Linked DNA regions of Homo sapiens: region 2 is linked to region 1. The links are contacts of gene promoters, found by promoter capture Hi-C in human tissues and cell types (Jung and others, 2019). All regions are on one chromosome and are shown on one strand. Each heading gives the region's core, a stretch centred on a gene start or on the middle of the fragment in contact. The rest is flanking DNA. Distances are from core to core; before and after follow the strand shown.

Evidence for each region. Contacts are between HindIII fragments. The study calls those that stand out against the background at their distance.
Region 2: a contact is called between a fragment that was not itself captured here and the fragment with the promoter of HYKK in region 1, in 4 of the 25 tissues and cell types used here (lymphoblastoid cells, mesenchymal stem cells, mesendoderm cells and 1 more).

Annotation. Positions count from the first base shown.
Region 1 is chr15:78,505,972-78,509,328 of GRCh38, reverse strand. It overlaps HYKK (hydroxylysine kinase), which reads right to left and starts at 1,752. Exons shown (of 5, transcript NM_001013619.4): 1 at 1,658-1,752. The HindIII fragment of the contact is 18,918 bases long and covers 1-3,357 here.
Region 2 is chr15:78,785,763-78,789,119 of GRCh38, reverse strand. It overlaps ADAMTS7 (ADAM metallopeptidase with thrombospondin type 1 motif 7), which reads left to right. Exons shown (of 24, transcript NM_014272.5): 8 at 746-889. Among named protein-coding and RNA genes, the nearest start is that of ADAMTS7, 24 kb to the left of the region's middle. The HindIII fragment of the contact is 7,649 bases long and covers 1-3,357 here.

The sequences.
Region 1 (3,357 bases), core at 503-3,002:
GCTACCTAACCTCTGAAACTCTGGACTAGTCATGTCTCCTCTAAAACAGAGTTGGATTAGATTATTACTAAAAGTCTCCTCTAGCTCTAGTATTCCATGCCACTAAAGTTCTTTAAGTTCGCCTTTTTTCTTTATATAAGCGCTCCATATCATAGAACTAATGGCACAGATCAAGTCAACTCTTGAGAGTAAATAAAAACAAAGAAAAAAATATGTTTATCAGACATGTCTGTCTTAACCAAATGTCTCCTTTGTATGGAGGGGAATTTTTTTTTTTTTGTTTTTGAGACAAGGTCTCTGTCACCCAGTCTGGAGTACAGTGGCACAATCACTGCTTACTGCAGCTTCCAACTCCTGGGCTCAAGGGATCCTCCCACCTGAGCTTCCCAAATAGCTGGGACTGCAGGCAGGTGCCACCATGCCTGGCCTTTTTTTTTTTTTTTTTTTTGGAGAGAGAGGGTCCCACTATGTTGCCCAGGCTGGTCTCGAACTTCTGGGCTCAAGCAATCCTCCTACCTTGGTCTCCCAAAGTGCTGGGATTACAGGTGCAAGCCATCATGGCTGTCTTTTTGATTTTATTATTTTTATTTTTTTAGAGACAGTGTCTCGCTATGTTGCCCACTCACACATTTTTAAAAATTATTAACTTTTTTTCCTACTTCATTGAAAGGGAGAGGAGGAATTCAGGTACTATAGGCTGTTGGTCTATATATCCGGCCAACAGTATTTAGCTCCTGAAAAAGCCCGCAGGAAGCAAGTGTGATTTCCAACTCCAAGATCTGCGTCAGAATCTCACCACCTTTGTCCTGCAGCCGGGAGGGGGCTGGAACTTAAGCTCTGTACTTTGTGCAAAGTATACCAGACAAGAAACAGGAGTCATTCTTGATTCTTTCCTGTCCCTCACTCCCAACGTGTAACAAAGTCTAGTAAATTCTACCTTAGCATGTCTTCCAACTCTACCTTTCTTCTCCTACATTCCCTTTTGCTGCGTCCTTCCAAGGGATTATACCCAGTCAATCTCTGTATTCTCAGCCCCTAGGCTAGTCCCTTATTTAATATTAAATGGTGAACCAAGGGTGACCTTCATTCCACAGACTCACGGGGCAGTTCAACCCCAAGGGGATCATGAAACAGAAAGGTGGGGAATCTAGCATCTGCAGTTTTTCAAAGACAACAGTGCATTACTAGGTGCTTTTAAGGGTCTTCCTGGTGGGTGAAGGGGAAAAAGTGGTGGGTGAGCGGGCTGCAGAGGGGCTGCTGAACCAAGAGGCAGGAAAAGAGAGGAGGAGGGCGCATGAGTAAGTGAGGTTCAGCGGAGCTCAGAGACTGCTCCCAGTAGACACCGGCCAGGCGCCGGCACAGCCCTCGGCCAGCGACCCCACACAGACCCGGGAGGGCTGGCCTCGACAGCTTCTCGGGTGCCACGCTTTCATTCTGGGGGCCCAGCTCAGCCCTCCTAGGTTACAGGTGAGGTCCGGGAAGAAGGGTGACTTGCCCATCACGCACGCAGCGAGCTGAGGATAGCGCGGGCTGGAGGAGCCTGAGGCATAGGACTCCCGGCTCCACACTTGCAGCGAGCCTCCCTGCCCTCGGGGGCGACCCCGACTCCCGCAGCGGGGACGCAGGGCTCGTCTCTGCTTCCCCCTCCTTGGCTCACCGGCAGCGACCCGACGTCCTGGGGTGGATCCCGCTTTCCCGCAGACAGGTAGTGCGGCCTCGGCCGCGCACCGGCGCTAGGAGGTAGAGCAGGGGCCGCAGCGCCCGCGCCCCTCCTCCAAGCCCCGCGAGTCCTGACTTCTGATTGGCTCCTCCCGGTCCCTCGCCGCCCAGTCAGCGCAGACTACTGGATTTTTTTCCCGGCCCCGCCTAGGAGGCTGCGAACAGAAATTCAGAGATTCGGCTTCTGTTGACTTTCTGCAACTCCGCCCAGCCTTCTCACAGTGAGTATCCCAGTCAGAATCCGGCTACCTTTTCATGAACCGGACTCCTTATTCCTGATTGGCTCTCCGGGTTGCCGCCCCACCCCGAGTGGGCAGGCTTTCGGCTCTTGAGTGGCACCTCCGAGTTTCGCAGGGTCCACGTTGTCGTGGCGGTAACACTGACAGCTCCTCACCCGCATCCACGTTTTTGTTTCCTAGCCTTCATTCCTTCTGTTGGAGGCACGTATCCTGGAAGTGATACGCTTAGAAAGCGTGGCCCCAGAGAGACTCGCAATCCCAGCCCCAGGAACTGTAAGGGTCCTGATTGGAAGGCCTGAGTAAGGCCTGGCTGCGTTCCGCAGGAGGATGCTGGAATGTTAGAACCCGAACAGTTTAGGCAGGGCGCAGATGGCTCACGCCTGTAATCCCAGAAATTTGGGAGACCGAGGCGGGAGGATCACCTGAGGTCAGGAGTTCGAGACCAGCCTGGCCAACATGGTGAAACCCCTCTCTACTAAAAATACAAAAATTAGACTCAGGGGGTATGTCTGCAGCTGCAGAAAGATGTATGGGAACAGACACACAACTCTCCCTCCGAGATAAGCACAACAAAGAGACACAGAAGCAGTCCAAGCCTCTGATAAACTCTCCCACTCCGAATCCTTAAAAACTTACTTAGTCTGTAAGAGAGTGTGCCTCTGACCTAACTTGGCCAGACGCCCCTCTCAGGTTTTCTCTAAAATAAACCTCTTATGACCACCAAGCCACTTTTCGTGTTTCTTTCCTCTTTCTTTAATTCTTACACCGAGTAGTTGGGATTACAGGGGCCCACCACCACGCCTTTATCTAGGTAGTGGAATCAGTGGGCTCTCTTTCTGCAGGAAAGTCCGCAGAGACCCCATGATTTTCAGAAAGCTGCACGAGATTCATGGAGTAACAGCCAGGTTAGTTGGATGGTCTTAACTGTTAAGGGCATGAGGCGCTGATAAACAGCTTGATGCCCTTCTCCAGCCAAGCAGGACTTCTCCGATAAGTCAGAGCCCTCTATCTACTGTAGGCTACTGGAAGAGAGTCCTGGGTACTGGTCCACTCATGCCTGCAAATTGGTTTCTTATTTTGTTTTTGCCAATGCACATCCACCCTTTGTTTTCTGTCAGGATATAACACACTCGGATTATCTATAGTCACCCTGATTAACTTGGATGATTCCCAGACCCCTATCAACCACCTACTGAGGGAAGCTTCTTCTCCTGCTTTAGATATGGTTCTTACCTGCTTCACTTCTAATCTCCAAAAGGCAGGGCTGTTTTTCACAACCCCAGGGGAACATAATTAATATCTCATTCCTTTAGATTGTCAAAGAGTGATTTTGACTTGGATTTTTCTGTAACCAGAATTGGAATCCTATTGGCTCCCTTAGGCCCCTCTGCATGCTTTT
Region 2 (3,357 bases), core at 571-3,070, 280 kb before region 1:
CCAGAACGTTCTGTGGGTCAAAGCTGTTGGGGTCATCCATTCAGACGTCCGGGTTTCGTAGGCGATGGCCGTGCCTGCAGGACCTTGAAGCTGCTTATGGCTGCAGAAAGAACAGCCTGCCACAGTACTGCAATTTCCTGGCTGTGTTACCCTAGCTAGTTCCTTAGACTCTCTGAGCCTTCCTGAGGGTAATAATGAGAACTGAGTGAGATTGTGTTTCTGAAAGTGCTTAGCATGGCCCCTGGCACATAGTAGATGCTCAGGAAATAATTTTTCTTGTATCCTTCCCAAGGATGGTCTCTGGAGACCTTTCTGTGATACAGCAGCTCAGATCCCTTAACTCAAGTGCACAGCCTTGGGACAAGGACCTGTGAGTGGGAACCGCTGTCAGACTGTTCTTGAGGCCAGTGAGCTTGCAGGGGCCATCACGGGCCCACATCTGTGCCACCTGATTTGCCATTGCTGGCTGGCCCCCAGGCAGGGGCAGGGCTGCTCTGGGTCCCTGGCCCTCATTTCAGGCTGGAACAGGAGCCCTTGGGATACTAGCTGTCATACCCTCATTTTACATTCAGGAAACTGAGGCTCAGAGAGGGGAATGTGACTTTCTGCAGCCATTGGGTGCAGCCATTGGGTGGCAGAACCAGCCCTGGGAACTAGGACTGCGCACCTTGTGGGTGTCCAGGGGAGGGCAGGCTGGCAGCCTCCCGCCGGCTCACCCGCCCCTGGGGCCTGTGCTCTCACACAGTTTTGGCATTCAGCATGACGGAAGCGGCAATGACTGTGAGCCCGTTGGGAAACGACCTTTCATCATGTCTCCACAGCTCCTGTACGACGCCGCTCCCCTCACCTGGTCCCGCTGCAGCCGCCAGTATATCACCAGGTTCCTTGAGTAAGTCCCCCAGCCCTGGGCCCCTATACCTTGATCCATGAGGTCAAGGTCTACTGGGAGAGATGCAGACAGTCATACTGCAGGGCCGGGGTAGAGGGAAGCAGAGGGGCAAGATCTTGATACATGAGGTCAAGGTCTAATGGGGGTGATGCAGACAGTCACACTGCAGGGCCAGGGTAGAGGGAAACAGAGGGGCACCTGGCAAAGATGTGGTGCCGGCATCCCAAATGTCCTCCTGGAAGGAGGCTTGAACTTGGAGGAGGAGCAAGAATTCACACATGTGCAGAAGGGAGAAGAATGGTGTTCTTGGTAGAGGAAGCCTGAGAAAGGCCTGTAGCGGTAAAGGAGCGGGAGAGCTTTCAGGGAACGGCGGAACCCTGAGCAAGGCTATGGGAGCAAAGGCTGCGTAGGAAATGAAGCTGGAGGAGGTGAGGGACAGCCACAAGGTCCGGTCAGAGACAGGAAGAAGGGGCCATTAAGGGAACTGAAATACGAAGCTTTCTCCTTTTTTTTCATGTTCTCTTCATTTGTTCTGGTGTTTTTGTTGTTGTTGTTTGTTTGTTTTTTGAGACAGAGTCTCGCTGTGTTGCCCAGGCTGGAATGCAATGGCACGATCTTGACTCACTGCAACCTCCGCCTCCCGGGTTCAAGCGATTCTCCTGCCTCAGCCTCCTGAGTAGCTGGGACTACAGGCGTGTGCCACAACGGCTGGCTACTTTTTGTATTTTTAGTAGAGACGAGCTTTTGCCATGTTGGCCAGACTGGTCTTGAACTCGTGACCTCAGGTGATCCGCCCACCTTTGCCTCCCAGAGTGCTGGAATTACAGGCATGAGCGGTGCACCATGCCCGGCCTGTTCTGGTGTTTTTTTGTTTTTTTTTTTTCAAATTTGCTATTTAATGTTCTAAGTAAGAAAAAGTTTTAAATTTAAATTATTGGCATAAATTGTACCATTCATCTTTATTTTGTGCAGTGCCAGGTTTAAATGCAAATATGAGTATAGCTGACCCCAGAAGAACTCGGGGGTCAGGGGTGCTGACTCCTGTGCAATTGAAAATCCATGTATAACTTTCGACTCGCCCAAAACTGCTAATAGCCTACTGTTGACTGGAAGCCTTACTGATAACATAAACAGTTAACACATATTTTGTATGTTGTATATAATATATACTGTATTCTTACAATAAAGTAAGCTAGAGAAAAGCAAATGTTATTGAAATCATAAGGAAGAGAAAATATGTTCACTGCTCATTAAGTGGAAGTGGATATTCATTAAGTGGAAGAGGATCCTCATCCTCTTCATGTTGAGTAGGCTGAGGAGGGAGGAGAAAGGCAGGGGATGATCTCAGGGGTGGCAGAGGTGAAAAAAAATCCACATGTAAGTGGACCTGTGCAGTTCAAATCCATGTTGTTCAAAGGTGAGCTGTATTAACTTGTATGCAGAGTCACTGAAATTATACAATTCGTCTTTTGTAGCTCATATTTACCAGAGGATGAAACAGAATAAAATTATCTCAACTGGTTTCATCTCACTCCTTGGTATGTGCACATTCTACCCAGGCTGTCTACCTTTTCTTACCAATGAGGAAGGAAAGACTGAAAGGAGAAGGAACTGTGGGGTTCTCTTTCCTCCCGTGTCTTCATTTTCTGCATAGCGATTGGCTAATACAGGGGTGTTAACATGGGTAAGAAAGGATGATGGGGCACCTTGGTCATTGTCTTCTTTCTGCATTTGAAGTAAGTCTGGTTCAAATGGAAAATGCAGCCTCTGGGCCTGTCAGTGCTCTCCTGTCCCTTACTCAGTTGTTGACATAACATGTTTAACATCTAATTGCTTTGAGTCTCACCGAACTCCTACACATTATAGGTTCTGAGCTCATGGACCAAAGTAAATGTGAGATGCAAATGGGGCAGCAAGGAATGGTGGACACAGACATTGCCTGTGTCTCCTCTGCTCAGATACAGGCTCTTTTGTCCCATCAGACCTTGCTTACTGTCCGGACCTTGCTTGTGGTGGCTTATGCCTGTAATCCCAGCACTTTGGGAGGCTGAGGCAGGTGGATCACTTGAGGTCAGGAGTTCGAGACAAGCCTGGCCAACATGGTGAAACCCCTTCCCTACTGAAAATACAAAAATTAGCCAGGTGTGGTGGCGTGTGCCTGTAATCCCAGCTACTTGGGAAGCTGAGGCAGGAGAATCACTTGAACCCAGGAGGCGGAGGTTGCAGTGAGCCAAGATCGCGCCACTGCACTCCAACCTGGGCAACAAGAGCAAAAAAACTCCGTCTCAAAAAAAAAAAATAATAGAAGATGGCAACAGCAGAGCATTGTACACCTGCCCCACTTCTCCCCACCCTCCATTGCTTTTTTCTAGGCAACCACCTTCAAACTTAACATTGTTAGCTTTTTCTTGTATTTACTTTCCTATTTCCAAAAAGTATTGCTAGACTCTCATTTATTGATTTTCCAG